Regions from separate parts of the Homo sapiens genome. Here regions 1 and 3 are each linked to region 2. Evidence: promoter capture Hi-C in 16 types of primary human blood cells and fetal thymus (Javierre and others, 2016). All regions are on one chromosome and are shown on one strand. The core of a region is centred on a gene start or on the middle of the fragment in contact, and the rest is flanking DNA. Distances in the headings are between cores, read along the strand shown.

Region 1 (4,513 bases), core at 2,014-4,513, 140 kb before region 2:
ACCCTGTGCTCTTTAGGTCGCTACCTGTGTAGGGAGGAACGGGTACCCCATTCCTCAAGTCATCTGGTACAAGAATGGCCGGCCTCTGAAGGAGGAGAAGAACCGTGAGTAGCCCTTTCTCCCAAAAGCCACCCTTGGGCCAGGTGTGGTAGCTCACACCTGTAATCTCGGTGCTTTGGGAGGCCAAGGCAGGAGGATCTCTGGAGGTGAGGAGTTCAGGACCACCTTGGACAACATAGGGTGACCCTGTCTCTACAGAAAATAAAAAAATTAGCCAGGCATGGTGGTGTGTGCCTGTGGTCCCAGATACTTGGGAGGCTGAGGCAGGAGGATCATATGAGCCCAGGAAATGAAGGCTGCAGTGAGCTAGGATTGCACCACCACACTCCGGCCTGGGTGACAGAGCGAGACCCCATCTCTTAAAAAGAGCTGTCCCTATGGTACTACACAGGAACTGCCTTATATTTTCATTAAGCTTTTAACTTAAAAAAATTATACAAATGGTACTTGAAAATATTTTCATGAGAATTTAAACTGACAAAAAATCTAGAAGTTTCTTCTTGCCTGAGACCCCCCCTCCCAGAAATAATCTCTGCTATCAGGGTGTGTTCTTTCAAGCCTATTTCTATGTATTTGCTCATATATAGAAATATTTCTAGAATGATATAGGCTTCTGTGTTTTATTATCTAAATCAGTCATTCTTAACCAGGGGTGATTTTGTACCCCCTCCTCCTAGGAGATACTTGGCAATGTCTGGAGATATTTTTGGTTGTCACACATAGAGGGGGTGCTACTGCCATCTAGTAGGTAGAGAGACCAAGGATGTTGCTAACATCCTATAGGGCACAGGACAGCCCCCACAATAAAGAATCAACGTGGCCTAAAACATCAGTAGTGCTGGCTGGGCTCACGCCTGTAATCCCAGCACTTTTGGAGGCCAAGGTGGGCGGATCACCTGAGGTCGGGAGTTCAAGACCAGCCTGTCCAACACGGAGAAACCCCATCTCTACTGAAAATACAAAAGTAGCCGGGCGTGGTGGCGCATGTCTGTAATCCCAGCTACTCAGGAGGCTGAGGCAGGAGAATCACTTGAAGCCGGGAGGGAGGTGGAGGTTGCGGTGAGCCGAGATTGTACCACTGCACTCCAGCCTGGGCAACAAGAGTGAAACTCTGTCTGAAAAAAAAAAAAAAAAAATTATCAGTAGTGCTGAGAAACCCTGGTCTAAGTGGTGGTGTATGGTATACATTGTTAGACAATTTCTTTTATACAATGTTTCTGGGTCAGTCTATTTAGATCAACTGATCGTTTTGCTTACTGCCAAGTTTTCCATACTACGCATAGCAGGTAGTCGAGTTCACCATTCCCCATTTAGTGGACATCTAGACGGCTGCTCGTTTTTATCATTGCAGCATTCTTTGCACACATCCTTGGATATGAGCAGACATGAAAATGTTTTTCTAGGGTTGACACTGAGCAGTAAAAGTGCTGGGTTGAAGGGTTTCCAGCTTGCATTTGTACCTGGCCTTCTACAGGGGACAGGGGGCTATTTAGATGGTCCCCTGCCAACCCCAGTGGACAACCCTAGGGTGGGGCTGGAGGTGGGGCTGAGGCTGAGTCTTCCTCCCCTTCCTCCCTGCCCAGGGGTCCACATTCAGTCGTCCCAGACTGTGGAGTCGAGTGGTTTGTACACCTTGCAGAGTATTCTGAAGGCACAGCTGGTTAAAGAAGACAAAGATGCCCAGTTTTACTGTGAGCTCAACTACCGGCTGCCCAGTGGGAACCACATGAAGGAGTCCAGGGAAGTCACCGTCCCTGTTTTCTGTGAGTACTAACCTGACTCTCTGCTTACTGGGGCTGGGGCTGCTGGAAACTCCTGCTGGCTCCCCCTTATCCAGCCCAGGGTTGACTCATGGGCCAAGAGCTACCCCCTTTGCCTATGCAGACCCGACAGAAAAAGTGTGGCTGGAAGTGGAGCCCGTGGGAATGCTGAAGGAAGGGGACCGCGTGGAAATCAGGTGTTTGGCTGATGGCAACCCTCCACCACACTTCAGCATCAGCAAGCAGGTGTGGGGGCTTTGTGCTGGGTGCAGGTGGGGATGCAAGCAGAGACCCAGGTGGAGTGGCGGGAGGTGCACTCTGCTCACCTCCCCAATCCTCCCTAGAACCCCAGCACCAGGGAGGCAGAGGAAGAGACAACCAACGACAACGGGGTCCTGGTGCTGGAGCCTGCCCGGAAGGAACACAGTGGGCGCTATGAATGTCAGGGCCTGGACTTGGACACCATGATATCGCTGCTGAGTGAACCACAGGAACTACTGGTGAACTGTGAGGGGCTGGGGACCCAGGACAGGGGGACCAGGCTGGGGCAATAGGGAACTGGCCCCACCCTGCCCTGGGTGACATGATTGCTGTACCCCCAGATGTGTCTGACGTCCGAGTGAGTCCCGCAGCCCCTGAGAGACAGGAAGGCAGCAGCCTCACCCTGACCTGTGAGGCAGAGAGTAGCCAGGACCTCGAGTTCCAGTGGCTGAGAGAAGAGGTACCCAGGCGGGTCTGGGGCAAGGGGCTGATGGGGTGGGTGGGGCTGGCGGTGACAAGAATGTGCTCTTTCCCAGACCCTCTGACCCATCTCTCATCCCAGACAGGCCAGGTGCTGGAAAGGGGGCCTGTGCTTCAGTTGCATGACCTGAAACGGGAGGCAGGAGGCGGCTATCGCTGCGTGGCGTCTGTGCCCAGCATACCCGGCCTGAACCGCACACAGCTGGTCAACGTGGCCATTTTTGGTGAGGCCCTCCCTCTGGGTAGAGACCAGGTCACCCCAAGTGGGGTGGTTTTTAAGCTCTTTGACAAAAAGCCACCTGCTGCCCTGGGGAGCTCTGGTGCGGAGGGGGAGGCAGGCTAGCTGGGCTTGCCACCTCACCTCTCCCTACCTCCCCAAGGCCCCCCTTGGATGGCATTCAAGGAGAGGAAGGTGTGGGTGAAAGAGAATATGGTGTTGAATCTGTCTTGTGAAGCGTCAGGGCACCCCCGGCCCACCATCTCCTGGAACGTCAACGGCACGGTGAGCGGGTGTCTCATCTGCCACACTCTCCTAATCCCTGCCTGCGCTTTGTGGCCAGGACCAGAGATCCTCCCCATCCCCTGAGCTGCCTCCTTCCTTTCCTCGCAGGCAAGTGAACAAGACCAAGATCCACAGCGAGTCCTGAGCACCCTGAATGTCCTCGTGACCCCGGAGCTGTTGGAGACAGGTGTTGAATGCACGGCCTCCAACGACCTGGGCAAAAACACCAGCATCCTCTTCCTGGAGCTGGGTGAGGGCTGCATCCCTGCAGGGGATGGCAGGGGCAGGCCCAGGCACGGGCAGTAACTTGCGCTTCTCCTAACACCCCTCCCTCTGCCTCCTAGTCAATTTAACCACCCTCACACCAGACTCCAACACAACCACTGGCCTCAGCACTTCCACTGCCAGTCCTCATACCAGAGCCAACAGCACCTCCACAGGTAAGCCAGGCCTGGCAAGAGAACAGGGCTGTGCCAGGGCATCCTTTCTGCCCTGTCCCTCCCCAGAGAGCCCTGTCCAGAAAGGTGAGTAGCAGCCCCATCTTGTCGGCCCTGGACTGGCTGGGCCAACGATGGTGACGAAGTGGCCTGGGGCAGGGAGTGACGAGGAGTGTCTTTGTGGCGCAGAGAGAAAGCTGCCGGAGCCGGAGAGCCGGGGCGTGGTCATCGTGGCTGTGATTGTGTGCATCCTGGTCCTGGCGGTGCTGGGCGCTGTCCTCTATTTCCTCTATAAGAAGGGCAAGCTGCCGTGCAGGCGCTCAGGGAAGCAGGAGATGTAAGCCCAACACCGGCCCCTCCGCCCCCGCCCGTTTTGCCACCCAGCCTGCTGCCTGCCCAGCGCCCGCCTGCCCCTTGACAGCAGGAGTGGGGCCCTGGGTCAGGGTGCTGCCTGCTCCACTACCCACTGCCCAGCTTCCATCAGCCACATGGTCTCATGACCTGCTTCCCTGCCCTGGGCTGGCCCTGGAGCAAGGAGCCCTCATCCATTCCACATCCTTCACAGCGGGCCCTTCTCTTCCTGTGGCCCTGAGATACCAACCTCTCACCTCCCTCCCTCCTCCCAGCACGCTACCCCCGTCTCGTAAGAGCGAACTTGTAGTTGAAGTTAAGTCAGATAAGCTCCCAGAAGAGATGGGCCTCCTGCAGGGCAGCAGCGGTGACAAGAGGGCTCCGGGAGACCAGGTAGGAGGCGGTTCCTGTGGCCAGAGCCTGCCACATCCTCAGGGACCGGGGGCAGTAGGGACTAACGGTTCTCTCTATCCTTCATCCCTCTTTGTCAGAGATAGGGAGCAGGCCCCATCTTGCCTTCTTAACACTACTCACAGATGGCAGGGCCAAGCAAGTGGCTGAGGGAGCTTGGAGGAAGACTGAGAAAGACCCTGTCCCATCACCTTTTCCTGACCAATGCCCGTGGCTCTGGGTGTGGCCATTTCACCAGTGCAGTCAGACGG
Region 2 (4,690 bases), core at 265-2,764:
CCCAAGCACCAAGCACCTCCCGAAAAGTCCAAGGTTACTTATAGAGTCCAAACACTGGGCTCCCACAAGCTATTTTTCTGAGTTTGTCCCAGCCTGTGCCTTATACCCCAGGCTCACCGGATTCTTGCTCTTGCTGTCCTAAATTTGTTCATACACTCTTCCCAGTTTGGAATGACCTTTTTCCTCTGTTAGAGTCCCAACCAATTTTTTTTTTTTTTTTTTTTTTTTTTTTTTTTTTCCTGAGACAGGGTCTCTCGCTCTGTTGCCCAGGCTGGAGTGCAGTAGTACGATCTCAGCTCACAGCAACCTCTACCTCCTGGGCTCAAGCCATCCTCCTGCTTCAGCCTCCTGAGTAGCTAGGACTAAAGTGGTGTGCCACCACACCTGGCTAATTTTTGGCTTTGGTTTTTGTAGAGACGGGGTTTTCACCATTGTTGCCCAGGGTGGTCTCGAACTCCTGGGCTCAAGTGATCCGCCCGCCTTGCCCTCCCAAAGTGCGGGGACTGCAGGCGCGAGCCACCACTCGGGCCCCAACCAATCTTTTAAGATCCTGCTCAAAAGTCTCCGTCCCTGGGAAGTCTTTTCTGAGGCCTCTGAACTCACTTAAATGGAATGTGCCCCTATTTGGCACCTGGTCTCCTCCACTGAGATCGGGGCTTCTTGGGCAGGGTACGCTTAAGGAGAACTGGCTGCATTGGGCCACCTGCCTTAGCAGGGCCAACCAGCGGAGGAGCTGGCTGGGTGCTGGCCCGTCCCAGGGGCTGCGGAAGGGTTAAGAGAGGGCTCCAGAAGCCTGAGAAAGCCTAGGTTCCGGTTTAACCTCGGATCTAGGGCCACTGAGTCAAGACGGGACTTGCGGGGCCGAGGGCAGTTCTCCGGTGATCACCCAGGTCTCCAGGGCAATGAGAAAAGGAGGGGGCACTGCAGGAAACGTACAGGGGCGGTGTTCCTACAGGTCCAGAGCTCCTCCACCAAACTGGGTCCCAAACAGCTCTCCTACTTTCGGGTGGCCTCGGGAACGCAGGGGGAGACTTGCCAGAACGCCCGCCATTCAGCGCCCAGCTCCGTCCCTCTCGTTCTCGGCCGGGATCTCCCCGCGGCCCTTGCACAGCCTCCTCCCCCGGCCCGCCCTGCCCCCCGCTCAGCGCGGCCTCCCAGCCAGGGCGCAGGGGTTATCAAGCCCGCTAGGCCTTTACCCGCGGCTGCCCAGTTCCGGGAGCCGTCGGCCGCGGCCCAGAGGGGTCGGCTGGGCGGACGCCGGCGTCTCCCGCTAGCTCCCAGAGTCCCCGGCTCCTCGGCGTGGCGCTTCCTGCCCACCTCCGCCCGCCTGCGCGGCCCTGGCACCTGGCAGCGGGCGCGAAAGAGGACGAGCCCAGGCACTCGGGCCTGCGGGGTCCTGGGACGAGGGGGTCAGCGAGAGGGGCCCGGTGCTCCGGAGCAGGCGCAGGGCTGGAACCCCGGCGCCACCCGTCCCGCCATCGTCCCCCCTCCCTGCCTCCATCCCCGCGGGCACTGCCGCTAGTACTGCCCTCTGCAGGTTCCCAAGCGCCAGTGACACCCAGTGACCTCACTAACCACCTCCCAGGCTGGGCTGCTTGTTAGGCCCATTTTACAGATGAAGAAACTGATGCTCAGAAGGGTGAAATGACTTGTGCAGGTTGATTCAGTTAGGAAGTGGATGAGCCAGAACAACATCCCGGGCCTGAGTCTTCCTACCTTACCCCTGGGCCTCCCTGAGGCGCGGTGTCCAGGGGATTCTTCCCTCTGTCCCTCTCCGCCTCCCCAGCCTACCTTCAGGCAGAGACCTGAGCCTAAGGCTTCCTTGGGTTCTGCCTTATGTATCCGGTCCTCTTCAGAGCCCAGACCTATGTGTGTGGCTGCTGGTAACCTTGGTTAAGAAAGAAGGAAGAATGGGGGCTGAAGGACAACTTGCACCCCAACCTGCTCTTCGGGTCTGACACCCATTCATGGCCTAGCCCTGGGGCTTCCCAGTTCCCAAAGCCCCCACCCTTATCCCTACACTTCCACACACTTCCACACCCTGGGCTCACGTAGCCCAGAAGGAGGAGCCACCCACCACCCACAGCCAGGGCACGCCTTCGTATGCAAGCATGAGTGTACGATGTTCACACAACAGAGCTGTGCACTAGGGCACCCACAGAGAGGCTCTCCAGGGCAGGGCTGGGAAGAGGACTTACTGAAAACAATGTGGATGTTTCATTTAGACATTTGTTCATTCGTTGTACTGTGGTATTGGGTAGCACTGAGCACCTCACCCCCACAAGCCAGGTCCAGCACTAGGCCCTGGGCTGCCAACCACAGCAAGGCAGGCACCTCACTTTAATGGAATCAACTACCACATTTACAAATGATGTACTTCAAGGCCGAGGCAGGAGGATCACTTGAGACCAGGAGTTTGAGACCAGCCTGGGTGACATAGTGAGACCCTGTCTCTATTTAAAATGAAAATAGAAAATAAAAATATAAAAAACAGACAAACAAATGATGTACTTCAGTGGCAGAGGCAAGGCATTAGGAGAGTCTGGAAAAGGGAGTGCAGAGGAGGTAACATTTGTACTGGATCTGAAAAAATAAATCAGAGGACCAGCCGCGGTGGCTCACACCTGTAATCTCAGCACTTTGGAAGGCTGGGGGTGAGGGCAGATCTCCTGAGGCCAGGAGTTTGGGACCAGCTCAAACTCGTCACCATGGCCAACATGGTGAAACCCCCGTCTCTACTAAAAATAACAAAAATTGGCCAGGCATGGTGGCTCATGCCTGTAATCCTAGCACTTTGGGAGGCCAAGGCAGGCGGATTGCCTGAGCTCAGAAGTTCACGACCAACCTAGGCAACGTGGTGAAACCTCATCTCTACTAAAAATACAAAAATTAGCCGGGCTGGGTGGTGCATGCCTGCAGTCCCAGCTACACAGGAGGCTTAGGCAGGAGAATCGCTTGAATCCAGGAGGCGGAGGTTGCCGTGAGCCAAGATCACGCCACTGCATTCCAGCCTGGGAGACAGAGCAAGACTCTGTATCAAAAAAAAAAAAAAAATCAACCAGACGTGGTGGCATGGGCCTGTAGTACCAGCTACTCAGAAGGCTGAGGCACAAGAATTGCTTGAACTTGGGAGGTAGAGGTTGCAGTGAGCCGAGATCATGCCACTGCACTCTAGCCTGGGAGATAAAGCAAAACCGTGTCTCAAAAATAAAAACAAAAGCACAAAAAATTAGCTGGGCATGGTGGCACATGCCCATAATCACAGCTACTCAGGAGACTGAAGCAGGAGAATTGCTTGAACCTGGGAGGCGGAGGTTGCAGTGAGCCAAGATTGCACCACTGCACTCCAACCTGGGCAACAGAGAGAGACCCTGTCTCAATAAATAAATAAATCAGAGAAAGGAAAGGCAGGGCATCCCAGCAGCAGGGTGAACAACACATTTGCATTTTAAAAGAGGTTCTTCAAGGGGAGTAGAATAGGATGTGGGAGGGGAAGTATAGGAACCCCATGAATGTAGTCTCATGGGTGACAGTTTGGGCCTGGTAATCTCCTCTAGCTTCATTCCACTTACCTAGCCATGCAAGACAGTCACCTGGCAGCAGTTCCTGGACACAGCTCAGAGCAATCTGTTTTCCTCCCCTGTCACCTTCCCCATGGGTACGACAACCATGTAGGTTTTATTAATAACATATACTTTGACTGGCCTCTTGCAGACAGAAGTACTGTGAGTCATGCCGTGGGCATGTCCTCTGTTGTCTGACCTAGGATGCGGTGCAGTGGCTCACCCTATAATCCCAGCACTTTGGGAGGCCGAGGTGGGTGGATCACCTGAGGTCAGTAGTTCGAGACCAGCCTGACCAACGTGGTGAAACCCCGTCTCTACTAGAAATACAAAAAAATTAGCCAGGCTTGGTGGCAGGCACCTGTAGTCCCAGCTACTCAGGAGGCTGAGGCAGGAGAATCGCTTGAACCCAGGAGGCAGAGGTTGCAGTGAGCCGCGATCATGCCACTACACACTCCAGCCTTGGCTACAGAGTGAGACTCTGTCTAAAAAAAAAAAAAAAAGTTATAGCATGAGGCCGGGGTGTGGTTGCTCACACCTGTAATCCCAGCACTTTGGGAGGCTAAGGCAGAAGGATCACTCGAGCCCAGGAGTTTGAGACCAGCTTGGGCAACATAATAGAACCCTGACTCCACAAAAATAATTTTTAAAAAATTAGCTAGGCATGGTGGCACGCACCTGCGGTCCCAGCTACTCTAGAGTCTGAGATGGGAGGATCGCTTGAGCCCAGGAAGTTGAGGCTGCAGTAAGCCATGGTTGCACCCTGTACTCTAGCATGGGTGACAGAGCGAGACCCTGTCTCAAAAAAAAAGAATTATTGCATGGACAACTGTCTTAGTCAACTCTGGTCTTCAGCACTTTGCATAGGTCTGGACACAGAGAAGGTGACTGTGTTAAAGAAGATGATATCAGATGGGCGTGGTGGCTCACGCCTGTAATCCCAGCACTTTGGGAGGCCAGTGTGGGTGGATTGCCTGAGCTCAGGAGTTCGAGATCATCAGGGCTACATGGTGAAACCCCGCCTCTACTAAAAATACAAAAAAAATTAACCAGGTGTGGTGGCGCACGCCTCTAGTCCCAGCTACTTGGGAGGCTGAGGCAGGAGAATTGCTTGAGCCCCAGAGGCG
Region 3 (4,814 bases), core at 890-3,389, 210 kb before region 2:
AGCCCTTCATGTGAGCAACAGGAAATGACAGTGGCTGAAGCAAAGGGGTTGGCTGCCCCACGGGGACAGGGTTCATTTTAACCCCTGACTCACCCAGCATGGGTACCTTGAGGAGTGGGCCAAGCTGCAGCCAGGGTAGGAGGCTAGGGACTTGCTCATAACCAGGCCAGGGACCCAAGGCCCCGAGCTGGGGTAGATGCTGGTGCCAGGGGACATGCAGGGGCTTGGCACAGTGGGTGAAATGGAGGCTTCCTGGACCATCTCTCGGCCTATCAGTATTGTTCTGGGGCTCGAGTTGCACCTGGCTTCACTTTCATTCACCTGCAGTGGAAAATCCAGAGGGCTGCTCCTGCCAGAGTCTGTACACCGCATGCTGTTACTGGATGACGGACACCTGGATCCTGTGGTGGTCCTTCCCTCAAACCCCACCCACAGGTCCCAGTCCTGACCCGTCCCATGGAGAGCCAGGGAAGAGTGAAGCAGGGGTCTGGGCTTCAGGCCAGATATAGCAGACAGAGCACGAGTCCAGCCCAGCTCTGCCACTGCTCCCAGTGTGACTTTGGGAAATCCACATCACTCCCAGCATCGCCAACTTCCTCATCTGCAAATGGACGTGATAACAGCACCTACCGCTTAAAGGAGCAGGGAGGATTCAGTGAGTTAATGCACTGTGTCCCAAGCCTTAGTGCAGTTTTAAGCTTTAATAACTTCAGAAATATGAATGCTAAAAACTTCATTTGAAAGTTTCCATATTTAAATTTCTTGTATATTTATTTTTTAATTGTGAAAATGTTTTTAAATTTTAATTTAAATAATTTAATCTGTCCAAAGAGGTGTGTAAGTTGGAGACATTTATGTCTGAAAGAATCCCAGCTTAAACCTGCACTAAGACTTTTTGGGGTGCTCTGTGTATGAAGCACATCTAGAAGAATGCGTCACATGGCAAGGGCCGATGAGAGCTGATGTGAGACTGCAGAGAAGATGGACTCAGAAGCTGCATGTGAAGTACTCAACATGCCTGGGGCCTGGTTCAGAGGTGATCAGCACCAGCCAGCTGGGGTGACAGCTGCTTGGCTCAGATGCCCTGACAGGAAGCCCAGTGCCTCTGTGCAGAGGAACTCTGCTGCACCTCCCAGGAGAGGGAAACTGAGCAAAGCAACAGGAATCTCTGACAGAGAAGGAAGGGTCAGGACACCTCAGTGAAGATGGCCAGGAGGAGGAGCTGGGCAGGGGACTGCCCCCATTGTCCAAGGTGGCGGACACCTGGAGAGGCGCTGCCTGGAGCTGCATGCCTGTACTTGCCAGCTCTGGGTAAACAGTGAAAGGAGCTGGGCAGCAGGGGCCCCCCGCACTGGGCAGGGAGGGGTATGGGGGATCCCAGCCAATTGGCTTGCCTCCCACTGCCCCATGAAAGGGCCATTCAGTTCAGGCTGTTCCTGTGGCAACAGGGAGACTCGCAGCCACGTGAGTGCCCGTCCTGTCCCTGTCTTGCGCAGCGAGACTCCGGCCAGGGCCCCAGCCCGCTCTCCTGCCCATAGTGCATTCTGTGGCCTCCAGGGACAGCTGTGCAGGTAATGCCAAGGGGCACCAACCCAGGCTGTGCTTTCACCTGGAAGGTGCTAGGACCTTTGAGAGTGAAACTGGGGGTTGCGGGAGGGGAGAGACATGTGGAAGGCCCCGGCCCCAGTAGGAACCCTCTCCGCAGGCATGGGAACTGTAGCTAGAAGTCAGAGCCGAGAGGCAGCTTCCATGGAGTATTAGTGATGGCATGACTCCCAGGGCTGCTAGGAGGAGGCGGAGGGGTCTGGCAATCACCTGCCAGATGGGAGGGAGAGTGGGGATTTGGGAGCCCTCCTGGGAATCTGTGGGCCAGAGATGTGGCCCCACCTCCGGCTCCAAAGCCTTTCAGAGCTGTCTGTCCCTGTCCTCTGGACCTCGTTTGGCCCCAGCACTTCTGCGTCATCAGCAGGGTCAAGGGATGTCACGGGCTTGGGGCGCTGCCCGAAGAATACCAATTCCCTGAGAGCCTTACTGTGGGGGAGGGAGAGGGAGAGCTGTGGGGAGGAGCCATGAGCTCATACCCTTGTTGGGGGGATTGTATCTGATTGGCTGCCTGGTGTCCCAGAGCCCAGCTCCTGAGACCTGGAGTCTCTTTGACTTTGCATTATTGATGGAGTTCTCCAAAGCAAAATAGGGCAGGACTGGGCCCCCACCCCGACCCTGTGCCTCTGTCTGTCTCTCCCGCTATGGTTTCCCTCTAACGCTGTGTGACATCATCCCCCAGTTACCTTTTCCTAGAAAGGGGTGAAAGTTGTGCTGGGCACAGTGGGCAAAGGAGTGTACATGAAGGGCCAGGGGCCCCCTGGGCCAGGTGGCAAAAGGCTAGACAGTAAGATGGACCAGGCCTTTCTGATGTCAGCCTGGACTGAAAACTGCTGGAGTTCTCAGGCAGGGTCAAGGAATGCTGTTCCGGGCCTATATGGAAGCCACCTGCTCATCTCTCACCCCTGTACCTACCCCAAAGCCTTGTGTGGACTGGGATTCTAGAGCTTTCTGCCAAGCCCTCGCATTTGGGGTTTGGCACCAGCTCCTCTCTGCCCTAATGGGCTGGGTTGCCAAGCCAGTGTCTGCTGAGTGGCCAGATGTCTGCCCACTGCCTGTTTCTCTCGCTGGGGGCTGCAGGGGGAGGCCTGGCATCCCAAGCTGAGGCCAGAGGCTGGCCAGGCTGGGAGACAGCCAGCCCTGATATTATCACAGACCTTCAGAGGGCGGAGCCATGCTGCCTCGCAGTAGCTGGGGGAGGAGATGGTAGCCACTGTCATTGTGGAGCCCTTCACGTGTTGTTATCTCATTTATTCCTCACAACAGCCCTGTGAGGTAGGAATTATGAGGATGATGGTTTTACTCATTTACAGATGAGGAAGTTGGGGCTCAGAGAGGTTACGTGACTAGTGCAAAATCACCCAGCTAGTCCATCACAGGGCAAGTCCCACAACTCTGAGAGTCCTGGATGGCTCTGCTCCATCCCCCTAGAAAGCCCCCCAAGAGCCCCTGATGCCCTCGGGGAAAGGCGTCTGACCCTACTTGCTCCTCTGCCACTCCAGCTCCATTGGATACAGGCTGCACGTTTACGGTGATGGAAGGCCTCTGGGGGTCCCCAACTGACCCTAAATCTGATGCGGGGGAGGTAACTCCAGGTTAAGTAGAAAGAACACTGGCCAGGATTTTAAAGACCTGGATTCCAGTCCTGGCTCTGCTGGTGTGTGGCCGGGGGCAAATAAGCATCACTTTTCCCATCTGTATAACAGATAGATTAAAATTCATGATCCTCTGGGGCTCTCAAAGCTCCACATTCAGCAGTGTCTGTGTTCCTTCACTAGACCCTCCCCAGCTGCAGGACTGGAGCAGGGAAGGACTGGGAATGCCACCTGCAGTGCAAGATTTGGGACTGTAGGGGGCCCCCTTTGCACAAGCATCGCCAGGACCAATTTGAGATCTGTGTTTGTAGAGGAAGCCTGTGTTGGTAGAGGAACTCTTAGGAGGCCACAGGGCCCTAACTCCACTTAGAACAGAAGCTTAGCTCAGTGAAGTGAGTGTCCCTCACTGTGGGACCATGCAGCAGGTGCTGGTGTCTGGGGAAAGGGTCTGGAGACCACGTTCTGGCCCCTCATTGTTGCATGCTCACTCACGGCCTCCCCTGCCCACCCACACCCCATTACTTCCTCCCCTGAGCCTCCTTGGCCTCACAGGGGATCTGACCAAATGATCTTCAGGTCATTCCAGCACAGACAGTCTAGGATTCCAAAAAGACACCTGCTCATCACATAAGTCAGAAGGGACAGATGTGGTCTTAACTCCTGAAATATCCAGCATTCTCAACCCAGGGGTCAGTGGCATTCCCCCAGCTCAAGAGTTTCTGCAGATGCTGAGGCAATGGGATTTGACCTGGAAGACTGCACGGCTTGGTGGGCTGTGGAGGTCAGATAGCCCCTGCTTGCGTGTTTGAGTCTTTGAATGGCCAGGATGCGCTGACTTCCTGTGTGGCATATAAAAGCCACCTCATCCCTCGCACTCTCACCGAGGTGTGAACACACAGGTGCAAGCAAGCTCCTGTGCACACCTGCGTGCATGTGTGCTTCTCAGCAGCCAGCCTGCCTCTTGTGGAAATGGACTGGGAGCTCTGAGGTTCTGGCCCAGCTGAGGATGGGGAGCAGGTCTGTGGGAGCCCGACACCTGGCAGGGCCCTCTGACAACTACACTCCTTGTCTTTCAGCCCATGAGGCTCCCAGTCCCCACTGAGTGCCACCCTGAAGGATGTCCCAGCTCTCCTCCACCCTGAAGCGCTACACAGAATCGGCCCGCTACACAGATGCCCACTATGCCAAGTCGGGCTATGGTGCCTACACCCCGTCCTCCTATGGGGCCAATCTGGCTGCCTCCTTACTGGAGAAGGAGAAACTTGGTTTCAAGCCGGTCCCCACCAGCAGCTTCCTCACCCGTCCCCGTACCTATGGCCCCTCCTCCCTCCTGGACTATGACCGGGGCCGCCCCCTGCTGAGACCCGACATCACTGGGGGTGGTAAGCGGGCAGAGAGCCAGACCCGGGGTACTGAGCGGCCTTTAGGCAGTGGCCTCAGCGGGGGCAGCGGATTCCCTTATGGAGTGACCAACAACTGCCTCAGCTACCTGCCCATCAATGCCTATGACCAGGGGGTGACCCTAACCCAGAAGCTGGACAGCCAATCAGACCTGGCCCGGGATTTCTCCAGCCTCCGGACCTCAGATAGCTACCGGATAGACCCCAGGAACCTGGG

What was found. The method cuts DNA at HindIII sites, captures the fragments that hold promoters and counts their contacts. A CHiCAGO score of 5 or more calls a contact.
Region 1: a contact is called between a fragment that was not itself captured here and the fragment with the promoter of NLRX1 in region 2, in 1 of 17 cell types (fetal thymus). The highest score is 5.5, in fetal thymus.
Region 3: a contact is called between a fragment that was not itself captured here and the fragment with the promoter of NLRX1 in region 2, in 3 of 17 cell types (endothelial precursors, megakaryocytes and M2 macrophages). The highest score is 6.5, in endothelial precursors.

Annotation. Positions count from the first base shown.
Region 1 is chr11:119,310,080-119,314,592 of GRCh38, reverse strand. It overlaps MCAM (melanoma cell adhesion molecule), which reads left to right. Exons shown (of 16, transcript NM_006500.3): 5 at 17-104; 6 at 1,644-1,823; 7 at 1,945-2,066; 8 at 2,165-2,327; 9 at 2,423-2,541; 10 at 2,644-2,785; 11 at 2,942-3,063; 12 at 3,172-3,313; 13 at 3,408-3,503; 14 at 3,690-3,837; 15 at 4,127-4,244. MIR6756 (microRNA 6756) reads left to right here and starts at 1,581; the gene lies at 1,581-1,643. The HindIII fragment of the contact is 5,572 bases long and covers 478-4,513 here.
Region 2 is chr11:119,165,549-119,170,238 of GRCh38, reverse strand. It overlaps NLRX1 (NLR family member X1), which reads right to left and starts at 1,514. Exons shown (of 10, transcript NM_001282144.2): 1 at 937-1,514. RefSeq lists enhancers at 14-718, 719-1,424 and a silencer at 996-1,605. The HindIII fragment of the contact is 14,996 bases long and covers 1-4,690 here.
Region 3 is chr11:119,372,981-119,377,794 of GRCh38, reverse strand. USP2 (ubiquitin specific peptidase 2) reads left to right here. Exons shown (of 13, transcript NM_004205.5): 2 at 4,274-4,814. The coding sequence starts at 4,315. Among named protein-coding and RNA genes, the nearest start is that of USP2, 6.3 kb to the left of the region's middle. RefSeq lists enhancers at 1-573, 890-1,468, 4,335-4,814. The HindIII fragment of the contact is 2,877 bases long and covers 701-3,577 here.